Linked DNA regions of Homo sapiens: region 2 is linked to region 1. The links are contacts of gene promoters, found by promoter capture Hi-C in blood cells and fetal thymus (Javierre and others, 2016). All regions are on one chromosome and are shown on one strand. Each heading gives the region's core, a stretch centred on a gene start or on the middle of the fragment in contact. The rest is flanking DNA. Distances are from core to core; before and after follow the strand shown. Region 1 holds the start of LTBP2 (latent transforming growth factor beta binding protein 2). Region 2 overlaps VRTN (vertebrae development associated).

What was found. Contacts are between HindIII fragments. The CHiCAGO score rates a contact against its expected background, and 5 or more counts as called.
Region 2: a contact is called between a fragment that was not itself captured here and the fragment with the promoter of LTBP2 in region 1, in 3 of 17 cell types (M2 macrophages, M0 macrophages and naive B cells). The highest score is 5.9, in M2 macrophages.

The regions. Positions count from the first base shown.
Region 1 is chr14:74,610,986-74,617,948 of GRCh38, reverse strand. It overlaps LTBP2 (latent transforming growth factor beta binding protein 2), which reads left to right and starts at 5,712. Exons shown (of 36, transcript NM_000428.3): 1 at 5,712-6,498. The coding sequence starts at 6,005. LOC101928352 (a long non-coding RNA gene) reads right to left here and starts at 4,764. Exons shown (of 2, transcript XR_944029.4): 1 at 4,654-4,764; 2 at 3,901-4,382. RefSeq lists enhancers at 1-420, 5,029-5,656 and a silencer at 5,082-5,401. The HindIII fragment of the contact is 11,176 bases long and covers 1,548-6,963 here.
Region 2 is chr14:74,350,260-74,357,871 of GRCh38, reverse strand. VRTN (vertebrae development associated) reads right to left here. Exons shown (of 2, transcript NM_018228.3): 2 at 1-1,089. The coding sequence starts at 1,088. Among named protein-coding and RNA genes, the nearest start is that of VRTN, 5.6 kb to the right of the region's middle. The HindIII fragment of the contact is 3,151 bases long and covers 3,536-6,686 here.

The DNA.
Region 1 (6,963 bases), core at 4,463-6,962:
TACAGTCCCAGCTACTTGGGGGGCTGAAGCTGGAGGATTGCTTGAACCCAGGAGGTGGATGCTGCAGTGAGCCGAGATTGTGCCACTGCACTCCAGCCTGGGTGACAGAGTGAGACCCTGTCTCAAACAAACAAACAAACAATAAATGAAATATCAGTTGGTAAATGGAGGAGTAGTAATTGACACCTGCCCCTAGCCCCATGACAGGGTAAACAGGGCTGGCTAGCTAGTTTGTCCTGAAGAGAAAAATGGCAAAAAGAACATCATTATCTCAACTTTCAGATAAGAAAGTAGAAGCCAAATGAAGCTCAGAACTGTGCTGCATTCACAGAAGACGGAAATGAGCTCAGAACTGTGCTCCGCTCACAGAAGACGTAAATGTTCACCACATGTTTGTGGGAGGGCCCTTTCCAGCACACTCTGAAATACAGGCCAGCTCACCTTACCTTTGCAGGAACATCCATACCATGGCTATCACCACCAGCCAGCATGTCATACCCACTTGGAGGAGACAGGCACCGGCAGACCAGGGCAGGGTGGTTGTGAATTCTTGAGGGGACGCCAGGTCATGGCACCTAAGGTGGAATGGTTCTGGCAGCCTTTGCGGGCCTTAACAACCTCACACAGGAGGGAGTCGGCACCTCTCTGTACGGCCTGCACCTTCCAAACTGGAGGCTGAGGCTGCGCAGTGCTGGGGTCCCAGCTGCCCAGTGTCTGGAGCAGAACATCCAAGCCCATGAGCGGCTCCCGTCTGGAAGGCTGGGGGCCCAGTCAAACTTTCCTTCAGCGATTCTGCCCTCTGATTAACCAGGAAATGTGTTATTTGTTCTGAGCAGGGGAACAAGCTCTCCTGGGGAGAGGAATTCAGGGCTGGAGGTCCAGTTACTTCCAAGCAAGAAAAATCCCTGGAATTCTTTCAGGAGTCTGGGTCTCAGCAAAGGGGGCCGAAATGTGGCCCTTGTTTTTGGTCCTTATTTACCAAATTAGCTCAGGTTCTGGTAGACCTCTGGCTGCCAACATTATTCCAGTGAGACATGGAAAAGCAGTGAGTTTGCCCTGGGAGTCCAGGAGACTGCTGTCCCTTGCATGGGGCATGTGTCTGGGCAAACCTTTCCCTGCTGGAATCTCTTTATCAACCCTTTAGACTCTCTCTGCCGGGTTTTCCAGAGATGATTTTCCTCTCCAGACCCAAGAGATGGGTGAGTAGGCTTAGCAGCGATCTAATGAGGGAGAAGGCTTTAATCAGGGGGTGGGGAAGTGACACACGGTGAGTCAGCGGCCATGCTGAAACAGCTTCCCTTCTTTCACTGGGCCAAGAGGATTAAGGGTGGCAGAAAGTTCTGATAACTCCACATCTCCAGGTACATGAGCTCCAGGTACATGAACAGTGGGCTGGCAGGCAGGGAAGAGGGCATTTGGGGATATGCCCTAGAGCTCCTTTGGTGGTGATAGTGGTGGGGTGGTTGGAAAGGTCATGATTCAATTGTGAAGAGGGCTCCAGGCTTACAAGCCCGGGGTGGAGGCAAGGCGGTGTAACCTTAAAAGCTTGGGCTCAGGTGGAAAATGATCCAGGTTTGAATCCTGCCTCTGCTATTTATCAGCTGTGCCATCTTGGGCAAGCCAGTAGCCATTGCCAACCTCAGTTTCCTCCTTTGTATGCGTGGAAATCATAATGCCTCCTTTGGTTGGTTAAATCAGCCAATTGATGTAACATGCTTAGTATGGCGTTTGGACTAAAGTAGGCTCTATCGATTTTGGCAGGTTAAAAAAAAAAAGCAAAACTCAAGTGTTTGTGGGATTGGAGATTCTGAAGAGCTGCAATCAGTCCCAGCAGTTAGAGGGTAAGGGAGATATGGGCAGTAAGTAGGTGGCAGGACAGAGTGTGGCGCCGGGATGGGGTAGAAGATGCCAGTCTTTGGAGTAGATGAACTGGGTTATGGTCCCCAGGCGAACAGGGTGGGAACGTCCAAGGACCACTTGTACTCACTGAGGAGTGGAAGGGGCGCCCGATGGTGAGGGAAAGTTGGTCTGCGTGAGGGTTTTGGCGGAGGCGAAGGGTGAGGGATGAATGGGCGGCAGACTTCCAGAAATGCAGACGGAGGAGACGGAGCAGTAATAATGACTTGGACACACAGGAGGAAAAAATAGCTCAGGGACGAAGATGATGCCAAGGTTTCTGGCTTTTGGAGGCCCACGGGGATCTGAGGTGGGTCTTGAGGGATCTAGAGGGGAGCTTCTGAAGGAAGTGGGTAGGTTCCGGGGAGAGGAAGGGAGCCCAGAACTACAGAGGTGGGTGGATATCTGGGCAAGGAGAGGTAAGTGTGGACCTGGGGCTTCCACAGCTGTGAAGGAGCAGCATCCCAGGAACAGAACGCAGCATTCTGGGAACTAAGGGGCATTCATGGTCAAATGCAAGGGGTAGGGTTCAAGGAGATCTTTAGAGCCAGCCCCAAAGGCAGCAAGCACATGAACCTGGATCAGGAGCTGCCACCCAGAACTCAGTTCCTCTCTCTTAAAATGGGTCTAATGATACCAGCCCTCCCCACTTGATGGGATTACTGTGTCCTTCATTCAGTTAGCTATCCATTTCACACATACTTCTTGGCTGTTCTAGGTTCTGCAGAAACAGTGGTGAGCAACGCAGACAAGATATCTGTTGCTTTAGAGCTGTCATTGTGGTTTGGGAAGTCAGACAAGAAATGATTTTATAGGTTGTTGAATAGGACTTTTCCTCTGCTCTTGGAATATCTGCTGAAGCCACAAAGATAGAACAATGAGGGCTAAATATTCTTGCATTCTGAAGAGAAGTACTAGACACCTTACTAAAGGCAGAACAGGTTCAACAGCAATCAAACTACATCCCTCAATTCCAGTCTACAAATGAAAGGGATTGAAGAAAGTCACTGAAGCATAACACTGCTGCATTTGTGGGCAGGGCTGAGATTTCCCCTGAGGGAACTCCCCAACTCAAACCAAATGAAGGGAGCTCCCAGAGAGAACCAGTCATCTGCAAGAAGAGGAGGCTCTGTCCCTATAACTGTCCCCCCACTGATGCTGACTATGTTGCTGGATGTTACAGGCACCTCGGTGCATTAAACTACAGCAAGACAGTTCATGGGAGAACCCAACATATGTCTTTAGGAATTGAGGACGTACATAAATGAAGAGACTTGTGTGCACTTCCTGTCTGGAGAATTCTGATCGTGGAGCCTCGCTGGAGTGGCCTGTGTGGCAAGGTGAGAAGTGGGCAGGGTGAGGAGCGGCCAACCCACCATTGTTTTGCCTGGCATAGGTGGGACAGTCCTATGAGAGACAGAGGATGCAGGGGTCTCCGAGAGGTTGGCCAGAGAGTAATTTGCTATGGCAACTCAGGGTGGAGGTCCTGTAGAGAACCTCCCAAAAACCCACATATGTGCCCATGAAAAAGCCAGCGCTTGGCACCTGCCAACCAAGGGTACCTGTCACATAAGACTTTGCTACTTTTCCTCTAACACCTCTCTCCCAGCCTTGACAAAGAGGAGCCACAGCAGAAAAGGGAGGTCAGGAAAACAGACCACACCCCACTCTCACCACTGCAGGATCTCTAGCAAAGGGACAGGGGAGAGGAGGACTATTAAATGGGATGTGATATTGATTAACTTGGATGAGATTTTGATCTGGACAGGAGCAGACTTTTTGTGTCTGAAAATGGGTCTTAATTATATTAATAGAATAGTTCTCGTGTCTGGTAGGGATGACCTCTCAAGCCAAGGACTCTGCCTGAGATGTCATTAAGGGTGGGAAAGGGAAATTTACCATAATATGGTTGAAGGTAGTAGTGGAGCAGTTTCTGGATAGTCCCTCTTTAGGTTCAGCCCATTAAAAAATTCAGTTACACGAGCAAACAAATCAATAACAAGATGATGTCAACTGTTTTATGAAGATGAAACAGGGTGGTGTGTTAGAGTCATGACTGGGGTGAGGGAGGGCTGCTCTAGATTGGAGGTCAGGGATGGCTACTCCAGGAGCTGATATTTAATCTGAGAGGAGCAGTGATGAGGAACTACCCTCTAACATCCTGGAGAGGAACCTTCCAGTAGAGGGAAGGGGGCATTCACTTGGCTTGTTCAAGGAGCAGAGAGAGGGCCAAGGCAGCACAGTGTGGTGGGTAAGGGAGAGCAAGAGGCCAGATGAAATCAGAGCGGGGGCAGCCAGCTAGGGTTTGTAGGCCAAGGCCAGGGGTCGAGGCTTTATTTCAACAGTAGATATTACCTGGGCTTGTCTTTTGTGTGGTGTGGGAGGTTGTGAACTGGTGCCCACATGCCAGCTCCTTCACTCTGCCTCTCTGGGAAATAGGCTGTACAAATGTGCCAGGGGCAGCCCTGTTGATCCAAGCCTTTAGGCTGTAGGGAGGGAGCATGGGTGAGAATGGTGTGCTGATTACTGGGGACACGCAGACAGCGGCAGTCAGCATTCCCACACCCCTGCCCGCCTCCCTGCTAACACAAGATGTGAATGCACACACTGGGTCAATCGGGGTCACCGAATCCCCCTCTGGGAAATTCCCGAGAGAGTGAAGGGCTGGGTGGGATCCCGGGAATGGATTCAGCCAGAGGCGGGAGGCCTAGATTCCACTCCCCTCTTTCACATGCGCTATCTCCTTGAGTGACTTACTCAAGAGGCTCCGTGTCTTTGCCTCGGTGAAAAAGAGGACCCCTTGGCCGGGCGTGGTGGCTCACGCCTTTAATCCCAGCACTTTGGGAGGCCGAGGCGGGCGGATCACCTGAGGTTGGGAGTTCGAGACCAGCCTGACCAACATGGAGAAACCCCGTCTGTACTAAAAAATAAAATAATATACAAAATTAGTCAGACTTGGTGGCGCATGCCTGTAATCCCAGCTACTAGGGAGGCTGAGGCAGGGGAATCGCTTGAACCCGGGAGGCGGAGGTTGCGGGGAGCTGAGATCGCACCATTGCACTCCAGCCTGGGCAACAAGAGCGAAACTCCGTCTCAAAAAAAAGAAAGAAAGAAAGAAAGAAAAGAAAAAGAAAAAGAAAAAGAGGACCCCTCTTCTACCGGCAGCCATCACCGCGCCAGGCTCAGGCGTGACCCTCACGCCAGTGGAAGGGGATTGAGATCCAGAGCGAAGGCGGCGGCGCCAGGGCATTGCAGCCACGGAGCGCCAGGGCCGCCAGCTCCGCCAGGGGGCGCGCCCGGGACCTCCCTGCGCTCCGCGCGCCGCGCCCCGCCCCGCGCCACCCCCGCTCCGGCCGGCCCTGCGGAGGGCGCCCCCAGCGGCCAGGGCGCAAGCGGAGGGGGCGGCGGCCCTGTTCCCCTACGCGGGCCTCGGCGCCCCTCCCGGCTTCCTTCAGACCTGCAAGGCTGCAGCCTGGGTCCCCCGATCCAAAGACGGTCCCTGAGGCGAGGGGCGGGAGAACGATTCGGGGCAGGTCTGCAGTTCGAACTTGCCCAGAGCAGGAGAAAGGCGGCCCAGTGTCCCGGTCGTGGCAGGCGCCATCTGCCCGACCAGCGCCTGGGTCAGCCCCGCGCCGCCCCCTGCTCCGCACGGGTTAATCCCCCTCGCCGCCCGCTCGCCGCCCGCTGGCTTCCCGGTGCCAAAGTGGGTGTTGCTGGAATTCCTCGCTCCCTCTCCGGTAATGAGGGGGCTGAGCTGTCCCTCCGAGGAGGGGGCCTGGTGTGGATAAAAGAGACGAAAAAGCCGGGGGAGGTTTCCAAAAATAAAACCGTCCGGGTCCCCTTCAGACGGCTGCAGGCACAGGGAGGAGGCGCGAAGGTGCAGCAGCCGTGCGAGCCCAGCTGGAGTAGGAGCGCGGACTCGAGGCTCGGGGCGCGCAGCCCTCGTTCCGCCGAGAGCCGGGCCCCCAGTCGGCCGCTTCAGGGCCCCCTAGACTCAGAGAAGCTGGCCGCCGGGCGGGGCCGGGAGAACAGCCCGCGGGCGTCCAGCGTGCCGACCACAAAGCTCTTCGCGGTGCCCGCGCGCACCACTCTCCAGCCGCCCCGCGCCATGAGGCCGCGGACCAAAGCCCGCAGCCCGGGGCGCGCCCTGCGGAACCCCTGGAGAGGCTTCCTGCCGCTCACCCTGGCTCTCTTCGTGGGCGCGGGTCATGCCCAAAGGGACCCCGTAGGGAGATACGAGCCGGCTGGTGGAGACGCGAATCGACTGCGGCGCCCTGGGGGCAGCTACCCGGCAGCGGCTGCAGCCAAGGTGTACAGTCTGTTCCGGGAGCAGGACGCGCCTGTCGCGGGCTTGCAGCCCGTGGAGCGGGCCCAGCCGGGCTGGGGGAGCCCCAGGAGGCCCACCGAGGCGGAGGCCAGGAGGCCGTCCCGCGCGCAGCAGTCGCGGCGTGTCCAGCCACCTGCGCAGACCCGGAGAAGCACTCCCCTGGGCCAGCAGCAACCAGCACCCCGGACCCGGGCCGCGCCGGCTCTCCCACGCCTGGGGACCCCACAGCGGTCTGGGGCTGCGCCCCCAACCCCGCCGCGAGGGCGGCTCACGGGGTGAGCATGGGAGAGGGAAGTTTGGAGGGTACAGAGGGGAGCCAGGGCTCATTTGTGGAGGGGCGTGCAGGCGAGAGGAGAGGGCGCCGCTCTCATACCCTCGTCCCTCTGTCTTTAGTACTTCGGGAAACAGCCCCGAGGTTCCAAAATCGGGATTGGAAGATTTGATCCGCTTTCGAAGAGTTGAAGGCAGATAGATCATCATCCTCATCCTTTCTTACCAACTCTCCCGGAGCCCCGACGTTAAATCCTTTCGCAAGGCGCCTCTCCACTCGCCCGCGTTCCTCCTGCCTGCAACTAACGAGCTCTTGTAGACTCTTGCAGCGCTGCCGGGATCTGAGAGGCAGCGGGGAGAGGGCAGGAGGGTGGGCGCTCCAGGCTCTTGACGCCCAGGGGAGGTTGAGCTGGCTCAGAGCGCGGGTTGGCGGAGGTGTCGGGGGCCCCATGGAGAGAAGGTAGATGCGT
Region 2 (7,612 bases), core at 3,862-6,361, 260 kb after region 1:
AAGGCCGGGCAGGTGCCAGAGCCCAGCAGCTCATGCTTCCAGGCATAGTAGGTTGAGCGGGAGATCTCCGGGAACCGCTGGAGGAACTGCTGAAGTGGCACGACGCCCCCCCGGTGGAAGCTGTCCTGCAGGAAGTGCTTGGCGGAGAAGCGGGCAGCAACCTTCTGCCGGTGCTCCTGGGACTGCCGCCGCCAGCGGTAGAAGGTGCTTTTGGTGACGCTGTAGCGCTCACAGAGGTGAGAGTAGCTGAGGCCAGGTTCACGGTTGAGCAGCTCCAGGGTCTTGGCCGGCGATGAGAGTGGGGCCAGGGCTGGAAGAGCTGGGGCCACGCCAGGGGCACCTTCAGCCTCCACCTCTTCCAGCCCCACCACAGGGGCAAAGTACTGGTGGCGGAAGAAGTGGCTGGTGAGGGGCTGGCCAGCCCACATGATGTGCAGCGTGGAGGGCACGTGGTCGCAGCGGCGGGGCCGGATGACACGGTTGAAGTAGGGCCGGATCTTGAGGTTGCGCATGGGGTAGATGGAGTAGATGTTCCGCTGGAGGACAGAGGCGAGAGCATACAAGTGCCACACGTTGGAGAAGCTGCTGGGGAAACAGGAGGCCTTGACGTCGGCATCGAAGATGGCCTCCAGCGTGGCGGGGGGCAAGCTGGTCATCTCAGGGGACTCCTCAGAGCATAGGGAGTAGCGCACGGCCTGCAGCATCACTTTGGAGTCGATCATGCCCTGGAGGTAGTAGTGTCTGTGCAGCAGCATCTCTACCACGGTGCGGGCCCGCAGCTCCAGGCTGAGGCCTGCGTCACCCCACAGCAGCATGCTGGCCGCCTCGAACAGCAGGCTGCCCTCCCCCTTGCACACCAGCGGCAGCATGTTCCGTGGAGCATCTTCTGGATACAGGCTCAGGGCCACCGAGTCCACTTCCAGCACCTGGAGGCCAGGGCCTCCCTCCCGGCAGGTGGGGAGAGTGAAGGAAGACAGGACCTGCTTGGCCTCCAAGGAAGCACCTATGAGACCCTCCAGGCCTTCGCACTCCACTGCTTCCTGCAGCTCCTGCAGCACCTTCTGCACCAGCTGGTTCCGAGAAGTCATCCTGCCAGGGCAAAAGATAAAGGGGCAGTAGTCAGGTCGAAGTGCCCAGATGATGACTAGCAAAGGTGCCCTGTCCACTCCTGCACTTTCTCCCAAAAGGTAATGTCTATCTGCTCCCGTCCTCCCACAACAGACGGGATTGGTTCATCACTGAATGGTACTGAGGAAAAGTGTGGTCTCTAGAACCTGGCTTTGAATCCTGGCTCTGACATAAGCTTGGTCACCTTGGATCACTTAACCTCTCTATGCTTCTGTTCATTTTCTATAAAATGGGAATGGTGTGTTAAAATCTGCTTTATAGGCCAGGCACGGTGGCTTACACCTGTAATCCTAGCACTTTGGGAGGCCAAGGCAGATGAATCACTTGAGGGCAGGAGTTCGAGACCAGCCTGGCCAACATGGTGAAACCCCATCTCTACTAAAAATACAAAAATTTGCCAGGCATAGTGGCAAGAGCCTGTAATCCCAGCTACTCTGGAGGCTAGGGCAGAAGAATCACTTAAACCCAGGAGGCAGAGGTTGCAGTGAGCTGAGTTAGAGCCACTGCACTCCAGCCTGGGCAACAAAGTGAGACTGTCTCCAAAAGGGAAAAAAAAATTAATAAAATATGCTTGAGTTGTTCTGGGCATAAATGAGACAATAAAGAGATGTTGGCTGGGCGTGGTGGCTCATGCCTGTAATCTTAGCACTTTGGGAGGCTGAGGTGGGTGGACTGCTTGAGTCCAGGAGTTCAAGACCAGCCTGAGCAACATGGCAAAACCCCATCTCTACAAAAAATACAAAAATTAGCTGGGCACAGTGGCATGTGCCTATAGTCCCGGCTACTTGGGAGGCTGAGGCAGGAGGATCATCTGAGCCTGGGAATCCGAGGCTGCAGTGAGCAATGCTCGCACCACTGCACTCCAGCCAGGGTGACAGGAATGAGACTCTGTCTCAGAAAAAAAAAAAAAGAGAGAGGCCAGGTGCAGTGGCTCATGCACTTTGGGAGGCTGAGGCAGGCAGATCACTTAAGGTCAGGAGTTTGAGGCCAGCCTGGCCAACATAGTGAAACCCCATTGCTACTAAAAATACAAAAAAAAAAGTTAGCCAGGCATGGTGGAATGCACCTGTAATCTCAGCTACTCAGGAGGCTGAGGCACGAGAATCACTTGAACTTGGGAGGTGGAGGCCGCACTGAGTAGAGATCATGCCACTGTGCTCAAGCATGGGTGACAGACCGAGACTCTGTCTCAAATAAATAAATAAATGATGCTATTTTTTTTTTAAAGAAAAGAAAGAAAACCGTTATCCTTAAGTACATGTCGTTTTCAATACTGGGTGTAATCAAATGGGGCATACTTATAACACGCTTGCTGCAACCCGAGGTATGATGAATGTCTCCATTGGATGATTGTTCTGCTTTTCTGATAAATTAGCTCCCTTTAGCATGATATACAATTTTTACTTGAAAGAAAGTCTAATAGACACTGGTCATTCAGATTTGGATATATTTGGCAGATATTTTCTCAAAAATGAATGAAGTGAGACTGTAATTTCAAGGGAAACAACTATTTGCTGCCCATAAAAACTTATCAGCTTCCATCTGAAAATCTCAATTTTTCTGATGAGATCAGTGGTGACAATTTTTTTTTTTTTTTTTTTTGAGACTGAGTCTCGTTCTGTCACCCAGGCTGGAGTGCAGGGGCGCAATCTCAACTGGCTGCAACCTCTACCTCCCGGGTTCAAGAGATTTGCCTGCCTCAGCCACCCGAGTAGCTGGGATTACAGGCGCATGCCACCATGCCCAGCTAATTTTTGTAATTTTAGTAGAGACGGGGTTTCACCATGTTGGCCAGGCTGGTCTCAAACTCCTGACCTCAAATGATCTGCCCGCCTCAGGTTCCCAAAGTGCTGGGATTACAGGTGTGAGCCGTCACGCCCAGCCCTAACAAATATAATTTTTTATGCTGTATAATGAATTGTCAATTGTTTCCACTAAAGATCTACATCACTCAGTGAACATTTTCCAAATAGCCAATGGGTGCTGTTACAAAGTCATGCACTTGTAGAAGAATCATTCAAAGTATAAAAGAAACCCATGGGGCTGGGTGTGGTGGCTCACACCTGTAATCCCAGCACTTTGGGAGGCCGACACGGGCGGACCACGAGCTCAGGAGATCGAGACCATCCTGGCCAATGTGGTGAAACCCCGTCTCTACTAAAAATACAAAAATTAGCCAGGAGTGGCAGCACATGCCTGTGGTCCCAGCTACTCAGGAGGCTGAGGCAGGAGAATTGCTTGAACCCGGGAGGCAGAGGCTGCAGTGAGCCAAGATTGCATCACTGCACTCCACCCTGGGGACAGAGCGAGACTCCATCTCAAAAAAAAAAAAGACCCATGGATTTTAATATAACAGGGTACAAAAAGTTCATGGATATGGTTTCAAATTCCACATTATAACTAAGCTTTGAGAAGCTACTACTTGTAAAGTTTTGGTATAATATCAAAAAAATCCACTGAAAAAGTGATCAAAATACTCCTCCTTTTTCCATCTATATATCTGATGAAGTTAGATTTTCTTCAGATGCTTCCACCAAAACAATATATCAAAACAGATTGAATATAGAAAGATATGAGAAAGTACTCATCTTCTTTTAAACCAAATACTATGGAGATACAGAAAAATGTAAAATGTAAAAATGTAGAATAATGTGCTCTCGGACATTATTTAACATTTTTCCAAGTCTCCATAGTATCTGGTTTAAAAGAAGATAGGCCGAGGCAGGCAGATCACTTGAGGTCGGGAGTTCAAGACCAGCCTGGCTAACATGGTGAAACTCTGTCTCTACTAAAAATACAAAAATCCATCCTGGCTAGCATGGTGAAAGCCCGTCTCCACTAAAAATACAAAAAATTAGCCGGGCACGCTGGCGGGCGCCTCTAGTCCCAGCTACTCGGGAGGCTGAGGCAGGAGAATGGCGTGAACCCGGGAGGCGGAGCTTACAGTGAGCCAAGATCACGCCACTGCAGTCCAGCCTGGACGACAGAGTGAGACTCCATCTCAAAAAAAAAAAAGTAGTTTTTTTGCTCTGGAAATGTCACTTCTCATAAAAATGATTATTTGTTACTGTATAACAGGCTTTTTAAAATTTATTTCTTATTTTTAATTTTGTGTACAATATACACTGGTAGATATAACCTATATAAACAAAAGGTTTTCAGGGTCTGCAGACCGTACAGGAGTCCTGAAACCAAAAAGTTTGAGAAGTGCTGCCCCAGAAACAGCCTTTCAAAGGGGTAGCAACAATCTATTCACTGCACAAAGATCTAATAACTATGATTTACTGAGCATTTACTATTTGCCATGCACTGTCCTAATCCTGACACTAATACTTTAAGTACTACCATTATCCCCAATTTACAGGTGAGGAAACTGAGGCAACTGAAGTTAACCTAATTTGCCCAAGGTCACAATACAAGTTAGTTGAAACCAAACACTTTTTTTCTTTTTTTTTGAGACAGAATCTCACTCTATCACCCAGGCTGGGGTACAGTGGCTCATTCTTTGCTCACTACAACCTCCGCCCCCAGGGTTCAAGCGATTCTCCTGCCTCAACCTCCAGAGTAACTAGGACTGTAGGCACATGCCACCACGCCCAGCTTATGTTGTAGAGATGGGGTTTCACCATGTCCGACAGGGTGGTCTCATGGTCTCAAACTCCTGACCTCAGGTGATCCACCCACCTTGGCCTCCCAAAGTGCTGGGATTACAGGCGTGAGCCACCATGCCTGGCCCCAGATGCTCTTTAGGGTCTGTGATTCATCTCCTGTTCAAACCATTAACCACCTTTTAACACAAAACTAATCATCTCAATTATTGGTATGTTTTTATTGTTCAGTTGCAAAGCAGAGTGGTATTCCTTCATAGACACTTTTTACATTAGGGGAGGGACCATTATCCTTTCTGGTTTCTCAGATCATGTTCTCAAATTAAACTTGTTCTCAGAGTTCAATAAATTGCTTTAGATGACCCTTAGGTTTAAAAATGGTGTTTGGGTATATACATTTTTCAGATCAAACTGTACGCTTAAGGCCAGGCGTGGTGGCACACGCCTATAATCCCAGCACTTTGGGAGGCTGAGGCAGGAAGATTACTTGAGCATAGTTCGAGGTTACAGTGAGCTATGATCACGCCACCGGACTTCAGCCTGAGCAACAGAGGAGACTGTCCCCAAAAAGCAAAACAAAACAAAAAAGCTACATTTGAAAGGAGTGGATGAATGCAAATTGTAATTTAGTAAAAATGTTTTAAAAAATTAAAAGTAGGGCTGGGGCGCAGTGGCTCACACCTGTAATCCCAGCACTTTGGGAGGCTGAGGCAGGTGGATCACGAGATCAGGAGTTCATGACCAGCCTGGCCAAGATGGTGAAACCCCATCTCTACTAAAAATGCAAAAATTAGCCAGGTGCAGTGGCAGGTGCCTGTTATCCCAGCTACTCGGGAGGCCGAGGCAGAAGAATTGGTTGAACCTGGGCAGCAGAGGTTGCAGTGAGCCGAGATCGCCCACCGCACTCCAGCCTGGGTGACAGAGTGAGACTCCATCTCAAAAATAAAAAATAAAACATAAATAAAAAAAATTAAAAGTACTGAGGCCGGGCATGGTGGTGGCTCAGGCCTGTAATCCCAGCACTTTGGGAGGACGAGGCAGGCGGATCACAAGGTCAAGAGATCAAGACCATCCTGGACAACATGGTGAAACCCTGTGTCTACTAAAAATACAAAAAAAAAATAATTAGCTGGGCATGGTGGCCCGCGCCTGTAGTCCCAGCTACTCGGGAGGCTGAGGCAGGAGAATCACTTGAACCCAAGAGACGGAGGTTGCAGTGAGCCAAGATCGCACCACTGTACTCTAGCCTGGAAACAGAGCGAGACTCCGTCTCAAAAAAAAAAGTACTGAGGGAACAGCCACCAGAATTTTACTTGATAACCAAAGAAGGAAAGTCGTTTAAAAATTGGTAATCAGCCCAAGTGCAGTGGCTCATGCCTGTAATCCCAGAACTTTGGGAGGCTGAAGTGGGCAGATAGCTTGAGCCCTAGGAGTTAGAGACCAGCCTGGACAACATAACATAACCCCATCTCTACGGAAAAAAAAAAATTAGCCTGCATAGTAGCATGTGCCTGTAGTCCCAGCTACTCAGGAGGCTGAGGTGGATAACCTGAGCCTCAGGGGACTGAGATTATGCCACTGCACTCCAGCCCGGGTGTCAGAGTGAGACTGTCTTAAAAAAAAAAAAAAAAAAAAAAAAACCTGGTAATCAGAATCACCTTTGGACAAAATTTCTAGGCTGTGGATTTCTTTAAAATGTGTATATTATAACAAATCTGGTATAACCTCTCACCATATTTCTATTTGTACCATATCATTTAACTCTAGAAGTTGGCTTTTATTAATCTGTCAACTTTTATGCCTTTTATATTTACTTTAAAAAGAAAACTATTACTTTTCTTTGGATTCAGGAGATAATCCATATCAGTCCTTAGTAAAGACAGCACTTAACATTATACAATTTTTAAAAAAGGAATCCTGAAGAACAAACTGTGTACACACAGACAAGCTTTTTCATTTTGGCAGACAATGATGTCAACAAGCAAGACGTTGGGTTTTTGTTTTTCTTGCATTATGTCACTTGTTGAATGCTATTTTACAACTGCATACAAATGAGTGCTCTGCTAGATACTTTGTAAACAAAATTAGGAAAATAGCTACCATTTACTGACTGCTTCCTATGTGCATTTAACTAGGTAATTCAACCAAAATCTCAGGAAAAACAAGAGGGAACAATATACTGAAGCTGTGTGGATATTTTTATACCCTTACACGCAATTAGCCGATTTCCTGAGGAGAGCATGATGTTCCCTGAAGTGTTAACAAGTATCTGCCAGCTTTTCACCCTCAAGCATTTGGAGTTCAGGCTTTTCAGTGGTAATTTTGTTTATATGTGGTTCTCACCTTCCTTCCATGTGAACTACAATTCCATCACACCTACGCTATCTACAGGATCCCTAGTCCGAGTTCACACCTGGAGGTTCCGGGTTTACATTAAGTAGCTTTCGCAAGACCACACAGCTTTTAAAAGCTACAAAGTCTAAGCAGCCTGACTCTCAAGCTCCCTTTCTAAGCACTATAATTCCATCATCCAAAATTCTCATTATCCAATGGATCCAGAAACTTATGGATTTTTAGGACTTTAAGACAAACCTGGCCATTTTACAGATAAGGAAATTGAGGTCCACAAAGGTAGAGTCGACTTGCCTGAATTCATGCAGCAGTGTCCAGATACCTTCCAACACAACGTCCAGATATGCCACACTTCCTCTTGCACAGTCCCCACCTGTCCCCACCCTCCTCGTCCCACCCTATCTACTCTTCCCAGGCCCAGTTCCACCCGGCTCCACCCAATTTCATTCCTTTCTCTTCCCCAAAGAGGTAGGAGGTACAAGTATGTGATACCCCACTTCTGGCTTCCTCAAAAGCTTAAGGAA